Linked DNA regions of Homo sapiens: region 1 is linked to region 2. Evidence: promoter capture Hi-C in 16 types of primary human blood cells and fetal thymus (Javierre and others, 2016). All regions are on one chromosome and are shown on one strand. The core of a region is centred on a gene start or on the middle of the fragment in contact, and the rest is flanking DNA. Distances in the headings are between cores, read along the strand shown.

The links. Contacts are between HindIII fragments. The CHiCAGO score rates a contact against its expected background, and 5 or more counts as called.
Region 1: a fragment that was not itself captured here is called in contact with the fragment with the promoter of MED4-AS1 in region 2 in 1 of 17 cell types (M1 macrophages); the score reaches 6.4 in M1 macrophages.

What each region holds. Positions count from the first base shown.
Region 1 is chr13:46,775,690-46,781,916 of GRCh38, reverse strand. It overlaps ESD (esterase D), which reads left to right. Exons shown (of 10, transcript NM_001984.2): 7 at 302-421; 8 at 1,884-1,982; 9 at 4,294-4,461. Among named protein-coding and RNA genes, the nearest start is that of ESD, 18 kb to the left of the region's middle. The HindIII fragment of the contact is 740 bases long and covers 3,921-4,660 here.
Region 2 is chr13:48,074,320-48,080,811 of GRCh38, reverse strand. It overlaps MED4-AS1 (MED4 antisense RNA 1), which reads right to left and starts at 3,675. Exons shown (of 3, transcript NR_046511.1): 1 at 3,461-3,675; 2 at 3,259-3,370; 3 at 819-1,035. It overlaps MED4 (mediator complex subunit 4), which reads left to right. Exons shown (of 7, transcript NM_014166.4): 6 at 837-968; 7 at 3,501-5,088. The coding sequence ends at 3,673. The HindIII fragment of the contact is 10,244 bases long and covers 1-6,492 here.

The DNA of each region.
Region 1 (6,227 bases), core at 3,041-5,540, 1.3 Mb after region 2:
TTAGAATATATTCCAAAAAGTGAAATTACTAGGTCAAAACTTAAAAGCATTTTAAAGGTTCTTTCTGCATCACCTTCCTAAAGTGTTTTCTAAGAAGTCTGTACCATATATTTTCCAGGGATATATTAATAATCATGGTCTGCCTGAGGATTTAGTTTTGTTTTGTTTTCATTGTTACTAGTTCAAACCATTGTAAGACTATGATTTGGCAGTATTGATTGTGTAATTATTTTCTGTAACTTTGAAATGTCTGAACTTATTTTCTTTGATATCTTTTGTCACACTATTAAATTTTTTCTAGCTTCCCCAACTCATAAATGCCAATTTTCCAGTGGATCCCCAAAGGATGTCTATTTTTGGCCACTCCATGGGAGGTCATGGAGCTCTGATCTGTGCTTTGAAAAATCCTGGAAAATACAAAGTAAGATTATCTAAACTTCTAGTGATAAATATTTCTCTTGAATAACATAATATTAGGAACCTTCAAAGAGTAAAATTACAATATTGTTAGTATTGGAACTAAACTTTTCTAGTGTTGAGAACTTTGGGGTGTTTGAAGGGTGGGTATTTAATTTGACCATAGAGTGTATGCTGCAGAATCAGACGCATAGGAATTCAGCAAGAGTGCTTTCTTATTGGCCTACTGGAAGTATTATAAAATGTAGCTTCTCCTTTAATTGTTTTTATTCCAACTATAGTTTTGAACACACTTTTTTTCTGTAAAGGTTATTATTACTGATTAATGTTATAGTGGCAGGATCTATCATTTATATTCTTACCAGGGATGTCTTTGTAAAGTTGACTTTGATTTTCTGAGGTAAAAGATATGATTTGTAGAAGCTTAAGAATTGTGTTCTTAATGCCTCTAATGAAAATTGAAATGCAGCTTGATTAAAAAACATCACTCTCAGCCTTTCCCAGAGTCAAATTTGAATAACTACCATATGTAGTATGTCATACTGTGCAGAACAGCATGTTACAAGAGTTGAATAAGGAAGTGTTAAAGCAACTAGCATCTTAAAATTTCTTCTGCCTTTAAATTTACAGGGCTGTTCATGCCCTTAAAATTGGTTTAATTCATTTCCTCCTCTTAGGAAGAACTTGATTATTTTAGGTGTGCTACTGAGAAATGAAAACATTTCTCATAACAGTTTCTTTCTGTGGCATCAAATATTTTGTTTTTGGTACGCTTTATTATCAAGTTTTATTAATTCATGGCCTGACAGTGGGCTTTCTAAGTAAGCACTTTTATTTCCATTTTTTAAGGCAGTCTATCATGTCTGAGGTAGAAAAGCAAACTTAGTTGATTTTTTTGTCCTTTAAAAAAGCTAGTAGATACCACTAAACATTTACATTGATGAGTACTCTGAAGTTGAGAGATCCCATCTCTGCATCTCATCCAGTGAAAAAGAACATTGTATAGAACACAGAGTTGTATTAAAAATTCTGTCATATTGAAATGCATTGCTCACTGCTTTGTTGGTACTGTTTAAGAGAAATGTGTCAGATTTAGTAACATGTTCACTAAGGTAAGCATGAACTGTTTTATATCACTATAGATTAATTTTCAGTGCTAAAAAAGCAGAAACGCTGAACATAGACTTCTGTTTGTATCTTAAATTGCAATGTATTGTTTTGCATTATTTTAGCAACTATACTTATTAGCTCTCTTAATAGAATACACAAAAGATGTATTATGGAAAGGCCTGCAATCTAAGCCAGCAATATATCAAAAGGAAAATTGTTCACAGGGTTTTCATGGCAAGTCAGAATTTTTAAGCAAGTTGCAAGTAACTTCTATATTTTTAAGTAAGTTGCAAATATCTATTCATATTTAATTTAGCAAAATATAACTTGTTTTTAAATTTCTTTTGTTTCTGAAGTCTGTGTCAGCATTTGCTCCAATTTGCAACCCTGTACTCTGTCCCTGGGGCAAAAAAGCCTTTAGTGGATATTTGGGAACAGATCAAAGTAAATGGAAGGTAGGTACTGAATGGCTGTCTTAATACTCATTCTTAAGTTTCAAGTTTGTTTAAAAGGTTGGACATATATTATATTCCTACCCTGCTCATGTTAGGGCTCTAGAGCTGAGACAAATTAGCAAAAGATATATATATATCGATATATATATCAATATATGAGATATATATTATTATATATATTATTTTATATATATTATTATATATATTATTTTATATATATATATATATAAATCAACAAAAAACCCTACTTTCTAATTGTATTGAATCATGGCAGATATTCTGGGGCTATATTTTTTTTCTACTAATGGTTAATTTATATTTTTATTTCTAAATTAACATCACTTCTAAATTAACCAAAAAATACCACATATTACAGGTTGAGCATCCCTAATCTAAAAATACCATATATTACAGGTTGAGCATCCCTAATCTAAAAATTCAAAATGCTACAATGGGTATTTCCTTGGAGCATTACCTTTAAGCGTCATGTGGGTACTCAAAACGTTTCAGATTTTGGAGCATTTCTGATTTTGGATTTTTGGATTAGGGATGTTCAACCTGTGTTACTAAATTTAGACTTGCCTCTTATTAACTATGTGCTCAGTTGTGTAATAGAAGCAAAGAAGCCTGGCTTTTTAAATTACTTTGTTTTCAAAATTTAGCATTTCAGATCTCGATTTTAAATTCCAGACACGAGTCTTTAAAAATAGATATTCTGTTATGTACATTTATGTGAATATTCCCACAGCAAGATTGCTTTTTCAAGCATGCAAACAGGTGCTTTCAAGTGGAAATAAAAATGACCCTTTTTCCTGAGAGCCATGTTACTCTTGTGCAGAAATGGGCCATTTACAAACTCTGCCAAGAGTTTGAATACTTTGCAAATGAACTCATCATGATGTGTATTGTTAACAAGCAGAAAATACTTGAATGGGTAAAAAATGCAACTTCTTTGTCTTAAAGTATTTAAAGTATAGTTCTGTGTTCAGGGTTCATTCCTACATGAACCCCTATTTTATGTAAGGATGATTATTGAAATTCCAACACATTTTATTTAAGGATGATTACTGAAATTCTAACTAATTAAAGGGTTCATCCTTTAGTAACTAGATTACAGTTTTGTTTAGGCTTGAATTTTTACTATGTTTGAAGAATGCTAGAAATGATTTAGGATTAGGTCCTTTGAGAACTGACATTGCATGTACATCAGTGTTTTGAGTCTTCATCTGGTGCAAAGTCTATGCTAGGTTCTGAGCTGTTTTGTCACGAAAATGGTGACCCTTTCACATCCACCAGGGGCTTATGGTCTAATAGAAGAATTGGGTAAAAGACCAACTAATTGGAGGGTGAAGGTGAGAGGTAGAGGTACAGGTAACCTAAAAAGGAATCTAGATATGTACTTTTCTCCAAGTGACAGTAGATTTTACTGTCTTAATTATGTTGTATTTAGGGTATTATTTAATTTACGATTGAAATCAGGAAACCATGTAGAATTATGAAATCATAGAATTTAGAACTAACTAGTCAGACTTTATAGGTCCTCTCCCACTCTAAGATGAAAGGAAATAGAACCTTCAAAAGCAGGATACTTAGAGGACAAATCTTTTCGTGGTTGTTTGTCTTGGTCAATGTATAAAGTTGTGGTTAATGAATATATATGAATAAGAATATTTCGAGGTGGATGATAAAACATAAAATTGTAACTAGTGGCAGCTCCTCAGAGAATAAATTTGAGATGATGTTGATATGATTCAGATGATTCACACCAGGTGTTTCTGAAAGCTTATGTAGATAGCAGAGGTTTGGTGCTGTTCAACAGCAAAAAAGAAGGCTGAATGTGTTTATGTCTGGAATTACAGCCATAAAGAAGAGACATAAAAAAAAAGATTATCTGAAATAGAGAATATTTGGAAAAAGATCATGGAGTTAGAAGAAGCTTCTAGTTTCCAATTTGTGGAAGGAGTTACAAAGGAAAAAAAATCATGTTCTTGCTGGAGCCAAGAGGAGATTAAGAATATTAAAGGTTTAGAAGGAAAAAGGCCATTTTCTTAAGAATCCCTGAGATATGGGATTCTTGCCACTAGTCTAGGACTGCTTGAAAGTAGGGAAGAGACTATTATTAGAAAATAGAATTCCGAAGACCTTGTAAATAAAAGCCTGGCAAGTCAGATTTTGAACCAACTTAAAAGCATATTTCTGATTTAATCAGCCTAAGAGCTTAAATAACTTTAAATTTCTGTTTGGTACTAGTATAGTATATCCTGAAGAGTATCTTTGAATTTATTTTTCAATGTTACTTCTCTTTTTACAGGCTTATGATGCTACCCACCTTGTGAAATCCTATCCAGGATCTCAGCTGGACATACTAATTGATCAAGGGAAAGATGACCAGTTTCTTTTAGATGGACAGTTACTCCCTGATAACTTCATAGCTGCCTGTACAGAAAAGAAAATCCCCGTTGTTTTTCGATTGCAAGAGGCAAGTATTAGGAAACTTTAGCTTGATCTAGATAATGTAACTATGAAAAATTAGGATTCTGTGATATTTTCTTAACTTTATTTTAGAATATAAAATGCTACTTCTAGTAAGTTTTTAATTATATTCAGACACTTGAAGTGAAAACCTGCCTATAAAATTAATTATATCTAACACTAAATTTGATAGAAATAGGAAAGCTTTTGGCAGTGAAAAATATTGTTTTCCATCAAACCAGTAAATAACAAGATTTTTAATGCTTGAATGATGATTAATCTTCAGCATTAGCAGATACTTCTTTCTTTACACATGGACCTTTGCTGCAGTAGAATAAAAAGGACAAACTTCTACCTAAATTACTCCTTATTTTATGTATATATTTTAGCCTCAGAAGTTAAGTATTATTTATCACACATGTGCTTTATATTATTTGACTTTCATATTAATCTATTCATTGTGCTACTTGATATTTCTAGTTGTTTAAGAATAATTACTGAATCCCAATGGGCTTGCAAGTTTTTTTTAACTAAAATATTTTTGACCGTCCACTACTCACCTAACTCTATATATGCTACCATAGTCCTAATTAAGGAAGTTCTGCTTTTATTTTTAAGAAAAATTCATAAGCTTCAGAATATAATTTAAAATATTTTAGAGTGAAAAATGAGCACTGAAAATTATACATGGTCATGATTTTTAAATAAATTTTTATCCATGTTTAAGGATAATGTGTCAGGCACATTGATCTAAAATGTAATTACGATGGTAAATGTTCAAATCTAGATCAGTGTGTAATGTGGTACATTAGTTTGTAAAATGCTTTCACAGCATTAACTCATTGTTAATTCTTATACCGCCAAATGAGATATCATTTCTTTCCTATCCATCTGTTTTACAAATGAGGAGACAGGCTCAGAGAAGTAACCTACTTATCTAAGGCCACATAGCTAGTAAGTGGTGGAACCAGAACTGGAACTAAGGCCATTTAACTGCAAATACTGACCTCCTGTCATTTATCAAGCCATTTTCAGACGGCATGATATTCTCCTGAGGAGCAAAGGAATGGAATTAGAGCTAGCACAAGGAGAAATTGTGCATAGCTTGCTGCCTACGTAACTTATGCAGAAGATCTGAGCAGTCTTCCTGTTTTTAGGGATATTTTGCACATGTGAACTATATAGTGAGAAAATGTCAAAAACTAATACATGATATACTGTTTGTCTCTTAGTGTCCATCCTTGAGTAATAGAATTTTGTTTTAGATTTATTTGAACATTTACCATCACAATTAAATTTTAGGTCAACAACCAGCCTTGAGAAATCCAAATACCAATTTGACTATAAATATAGTAATACGTTTAACTGCAATAACTATAGCTATAAGTGCGTACCAAACCATGTTTTTTCCAAATGACCTTAATTTCTTGGCACTACCCATGTTGGATACCTCATTTGCTTCCCCAAAGACTGGGCCCAAAATTTCTGTTGTTTCTACAATGATTCTGCCTGCCAACAAAGTCTGAAAATCTCAAGTTTGTTATAAAAACAGCACAGTTAGAACATGATGACATTCCTGGAGGGAAAAATAAGTCCACTTATTTGTTTCTAAAATGCCTGTATCCCAAGCAACTAGAACACATAGTTGGCTATACTTAATGAGGAGTCAAGACAAACCATTCAATTCTTCTAAAAAAGTAAGAAAGTATTCAAAGCACCAGAGTCACAATGTTGAGCTCAGGTGCAATTTTCTATTCACTTTACTTCCAGCAT
Region 2 (6,492 bases), core at 2,426-4,925:
TATCTTAGACAAGGTGGCATGAGGAAAATAAAAGTAAAACAAAAAGATGAAAAATGTAAAAAAAAAAAAAGATTTTAAATTGAGACAGTCCTTCTATTAAACATTCCAGTCCTTTCTGTCTTATAAGTGTCATGATTTTTTTCTCCCTTGCAGCATAATCATTGTCATTTTCTTGCTAGAAAATACAGTTAAGTTTGAATAATTGAGATTATTATAATTTTCTTAAGTTGTCATCTGGAATGTCTACAAAAAAATGACATCTCTTTTTTTTTAAAGTGTAGAAAATAGTATATTCTTGGGAAGATTCAGAAAAGAAATTAAAATGCGTGTATTTTAAAAAGTAATATGCTATTAATAACAATTTATAAGGTGACTTTTATATTTCTTTCTTTCTTTTTTTTTTTTTTTTTTTTTTGAGACAGGGTCTTGCTCTGTGGCCCAGGCTGGAGTGCAGTGGTGCAATCTCAGCTCACTGCAACCTCTGCCTCCCGGGTTCAAGCGATTCTCCTGCCTCAGCCTCCCGAGTAGCTGGGATTATAGGTGCGTGCCACCACGCCTGACTAATTTTCTTATTTTTAGTAGAGACGGGGTTTCACCATGCTGGCCAGGCTGGTCTTGAACTTCTGACTTGAGGTGATCCACCCACCTCGTCCTCCTAAAGTGCTGGGATTACAGGCGTGAGCCACTGCACCTGGCCAGATGACTTCTGTATTTCAAAATTGAAAATGTAGCCTGAACTTTTCAGCATGAACCAGCGAAAATGAGTATGTCAAATAACATATTAACACTTATTTTTTAAAATATGATTGAATTAAATGCAGTCTTTATTGTTTTAGGGGACCCCCGGAGACCCTACCCAACTGATTTAGAGATGAGAAGTGGGTTACTGGGTCAGATGAACAATCCTTCCACTAATGGCGTGAATGGCCATTTACCAGGAGATGCACTTGCAGCAGGAAGATTGCCAGGTAATGTTAAGCCGAAGAGTGTTTTCAAACAGATCAGGGTTTTCCAGAGATGACAAGGTTGGAATATCTGGCGGTAAAGCAAGTTTGAGATTCCCGACACAATTTTTTTTTTTTTGTAAATTTGAGACAGTCTTGTTATGTCACCCAGGCTGGAGCGTGTTGGCGAAATCTTGGCTCCCAGGTTCAAGTGATTCTTGTGCCTCAGCCTCCCGAGTAGCTGGGATTACAGGTGTGTGCCACCAGGCCTGGCTAATTTTTGTATTTTTAGTGGATATGGGGTTTCGCTCTGTTGGCCAGGCTGGTCTCGAACTCCTGACCCCAAGCAATCACCTGCCTCAGCCTCCCAAAGTACTGGAATTACAGGTGTGAGCCAGTGTGCCTGCCTCTCAGACCCAGTTCATTGTAATAGCTAGATTCTTTGCCGGTTTATTCTGCTCTAAAGATTCTCCTTGAGGGAGGTATGAAATTAGAACAAGCTGCCTTTCTCTTATTTGTAAATATTACACTGTCTTCCTCAGGCATTTGGCCTCTCTTTTTAAATTATTGCTCTAAACATAGCTTTTTTATAATTGTGAAACATGCTATGTAAATAGAGTAAGATAGTTTACGGAATAAAGTGAACACACTCCTGAACAACCCCCAAGTTAACAAAATGAATAACAATAGCTTTTTATAAACTTTTATAACTTTATAAAATAGTATTTCTGTGAGACCCAGTTCATTCTGAGCTTCAGTTTTCCTCAAGTTTTTCATAGGTTTGTGCTATTTTTATATATATTTGTTTTATATTATTCCTCATCTTTTATAGTTTGTAGGTGACTTTTGTTTTGATGTGGTAGAACATTTGGGAAGTAGAAAAAGGCATTTAAAAAAGGAAAAAAATATACCCTTTCTGAGGCAGTCACTTTAAATATTTTAGCCTGTTTCCTTTTTTCCCCTATACATTTTTTGCTTAATGTTACATCATAAGGCTGTCCCTGTGTCATTAATAATGCTTTGTATGCATCATTTTTGTTAGCTACCTAAAGTACAACCAGGGGAACTCAACTGTGATATCCTTGGATATCACCTCATATTTCTCATGTTTTAAAAGTACAGGAAAAACAGATATGGGGAGTCACTGCCACATTTTGGACCAAGGAAGGGACAGACCTAAAAACAGTCTTCCCCAGCTCCATCCCAAGGCCGATACTCTCATATCATGGTGCTGTCATTGGAGAGGGTGCAGTGTAATGTGGCCCACTCCATGGCAGAGAAGTTAGATGAGGCATCAGAGGCCAGAGCTGGCAAGCAGGAAATTACCCACTGGGGTTCCAGGGAGACTTGCTGGGAAGCTGCCCTTTGGGATTCTGGTGAAACCTGCTAGGAAACCACCTTTAGAGGCGCCACCGAAAGTTGCTGTGGTGAACACCACTTAATGTCCTGCACACCAACCAGGCATCACAGCAGTAAAGGAGACAAAACCACCTGATCCAGGAAGTGAAACTTGTTTGCTAGTGGAGTCCCACCTGTGCCCTCTACTGACAAAACTTAATTGTGGCAGCTGGCAAAGGAGAAATGGTTTCAGGGGCCAGAGAGAAGGGTAGATTTGAGGCTAACTGGCATACCTTTCTAGTTAATACCATAACTCTTTCTTTTGACCCTTTAAAAATCTGCCTTCTTTATTTGAGTCTTGAACTATACCTGTTTATGTGCTCTGTCCCTTTGCTTCAGAAATACAGACTTTAAATGTAACTTGGGCCCTTTTTTAAGGTATTTCATATGCATACATTGCTAATCAACCTCTCTTTGATGAGAGTCACTTACAATAGCAGTTCCTCTATCAAGAAATCATTCAAATCTATTATAATACTAAAGTACCTATTACTTGTTTATAATATGTAGAATAATCTACATAACCTAGTATACATAAGTATGTATTATATATGCATATAATAGATACATAGATACAGGAAAAATTTGTAATTACAAATGTCTTACAAAAGAAAAATTATGTCAACTGACTAAATAGTTTCTTACAGAGTAGTATGATTTTTTTAAAAAAGTCCCCAGTTGCTAAAATATCAACTTTTCCTTGATAAATTTGATTTTTATTAATTTGGCTAAATGTGTATTTTTTTCCTAGTCTTAAAAAAATTGGCACAATAGCTTATGCCTGTAATCCCAACACTTTGGGAGGCTGAGGTAGCAGGATAGCTTGAGCCCAGGAGTTGGAGACCAGCCTGGTTAACATAGTGAGACCTCATCTCTACAAAAACTTTAAAAAGTACTCAAGCATGGTGGCACATACCTGTAACCCAGTTACTCAGGAGGCTGAGGCAGGAGGATTGCTTGAGCCTAGGTCAGGGCTTCAGTGATGTATTCGTGCCACTGCACTCAAGCCTGGGTGACAGAATGAGACCCTGTGTCAAAAAAAGAAGAGAAAAAAGTAAAATTAAAAAAAATACTTCAAATTGTTGCATAAAGGGAAAAGTAAGAACTAGATTAATTACAGATAGAGCTGTTCTTATCTATGCTTCTTTTTTTCTCCAGATGTCCTTGCTCCACAGTATCCATGGCAGTCAAATGACATGTCGATGAATATGTTACCACCAAATCATAGTAGTGACTTTTTGTTGGAACCTCCTGGGCATAATAAAGAAAATGAAGATGATGTAGAGATTATGTCAACGGACTCCTCAAGCAGTAGTAGTGAGTCTGATTGAAAAACCTTAAAAGACAATATACAGAATTGAATACTGTAGAATTCTGTTTCTTTAACAGTAGCAGGGAAATGTAAACTACAGGTGACAAAAAATACCCAGGTAAACACTGGCTTTGGTAGAATTGTGCAGTCATTAAAAGTCAAAATTTTTTGACTTTCTTTTTAAAGCCAAAGACCATAGTTTTAGTTTTAAGCCACTAGGTAGATATTTAGGGGAATAGTCAAAATTTACTGTTGAAAAAGCAGTTGCTATGTGCTTTCTTACCCTGTTCTGTTCCAGTTTTGCTGGATTTGTACATAGCCATTCTAGAAATAGAGTTGAGGGAAATTATCCATATACATATCACTAATAGGCTTCTTGGAATTATTTAGAAAAGCATTTTTAAACTGGCAGTGGATGACTGAATAGGCATCATATTTCTTTTTGTGTGTCATTTAAAAGTAACAAAAACTGCCATTTGACAGTAAAGGCTCTTGGCTTCTGTTGGAGGCATGGGAAATTGTCTCAATTTGTACAGTTTGTAATTGTAATTTTTGTAAATAAATTTGTTTGTACATTGTATGCTTTTTTTTTAGTTTAAATATACTGTCAGTGTAGGTAGGAAATTATTTCTGTAAATCCAGTTGCATTTTATAATACTTGAGTGACTAACTGAATTGAAACCTATTACAATTAATAGGGTTCTCAAAGGCCTATTCCTATTAGAAGAAATAATTTTTTTTAATAATTGAAAAAATTTACCACAGCCTTGTCTGATTTTAAGAATAGATTGTGTGAAGATTTAGAATGGAAAGCAACCATTTCTTCCCTTCACCTTCCTCTTCTTACAGTTCCCCAGGAGTCATTTTTAACCACTTTTAATTTCTGTTGGTAACCTCTGTGTTTAGGTAATATGCTTATACAACTATTTCTTGATGTATCAGTTTTAGACAATGTATCTTCTGATTTCAAAGGTAATACAACATTTAATGTGAAACATTTAGTGAATACAGTAAAGGAGAAAATAAAATTGTTAGCATTCTACCCAGAGATAATATCAATTCATATTGTAGTGTAGATTTTTTTAAAGTTCACATACACTTTTTTGTAAAATGAGAATAATGTTTATTTCCTGAGATACTGCTGTATTTTTTAATTGCTAATCTGTATTCTTCAAATGAACTGAGAATTCCATTTTTCCATCATTTTTTCCTTTTGATTATTTTCGATCTCTAGAAAAATTGGAAAATAGGAGATTAATCTTATATTTTCACCATCTAGAATTAAGGACATACAATGTTTGAATGTCTTTCCCTCCAGGGTTATTTTTAGGAATGGACTAACACAATATCTAATTTTAACCTTGCCTTGTCCGTATACTAGGAATATTGATCCATGTGTATACATTCTTGAAAGATTTACTTTAATGGCTAAAATTTTATTGTGGTATGTGCCATAATGTAACTGCCTGTTTTTATCACCAAATCTTTAGGGTAGATTCAAAAGGATTGTGTTTTTCAAATTCTTTAATACTGTATTAGTTTTCAGTTGCTGCCGTAACAAATTACCACAAACTTGGCTCAAAACAACACAAATTTATCTTAGTTTTGTACATCACAAATGTGAAGTGGGTCTCACCTAAAATCAAGGTGTGAGCAGGGCTGCATTCCTTCCTGGAGGCCATAGGGGAGAATCTGTCCCCTGTGTCTTCCAGGTTTTAGAGGCCGCCCTTGGTCCTGCTCCAGGCCCCTGGTTGGTGAGTGTTTCTCATTCTGCATTACTGTGATGCTCTTCTGCCTACCTGTCCCATATTTAAAGGATCCTGTGATCATTCTGAGCCCACTGGATAACCCAGAATAATCTTCTTATTTAAAGTGAGATGATTAGCAACCTTTATTCTGTTTGCAACCTTAATTCTTCCTTGCCATGTAACAAAACAACATTCATAGGTTCTGTAGATTGGGATTTAGACATCTTTGGGGAAAGGGGGTCATTATCCAGCCTATCAGAAATAATCCAAACTTTTCCCCTGAAAATTACACAAATATACATTCTATCAGTACTAAGTCAATATCATAAGTCTATATATTTCTGAATTTTTTTTTTTTTGGAGACGGAGTCTTGCTCTGTCACCCAGCCTGGAGTGCAGTGGCTCTATCTCGGCTCACTGCAAGCTCCACCTCCTGGGTTCACGCCATTCTCCTGCCTTAGCCTCCTGAGTAGCTGGGACTACAGGTGCCCACCACCACGCCTGGCTAATTTTTTTGTATTTTTAGTAGAGACGGGGTTTCACCATGTTAGCCAGGATGGTCTTGATCTCCTGACCTCGTGATCCACCCTCCTCAGCCTCCCAAAGTGTTGGGATTACAGGTGTGAGCCACTGCGCCCAGCCTGAAAAATTTTTTTAAAGGTTTTTGTGTGTGTCCCAGTAGATGCCCTTAAAATAACTGCCTCTGGAAATGATGTCTATAAAAGGTCATAAACTCAAATTTATCTTCAGAGACGAGGCCACTCACACAAATGTAAGGAGTTGGCTAGATATTACTTAACAGGGAGTGGTAGAAATTTTGGCCAAAACTAGAGTGTATGCCCAGGCTTTTAAAATTAGATTATATAAACTGTGGGACAAATCTAGCCCAAAAGTGCCTGTTTTGTTTGTTTGTTTCTTTGTTTTTCCAGAGATGAGGTCTTACTTTGTTGCTCAGGCTGTTCATGAACTCATGGCCTCAGGCAATCCTCTTGCCTTAGCCTCTCAGAGTTCTGGGATTACAGGCCACCATGCTGGGCTCAGAAGTACCAGTTTTTGATCTTGGTATAACTTTGTGCAGTTGTCGCTTTGG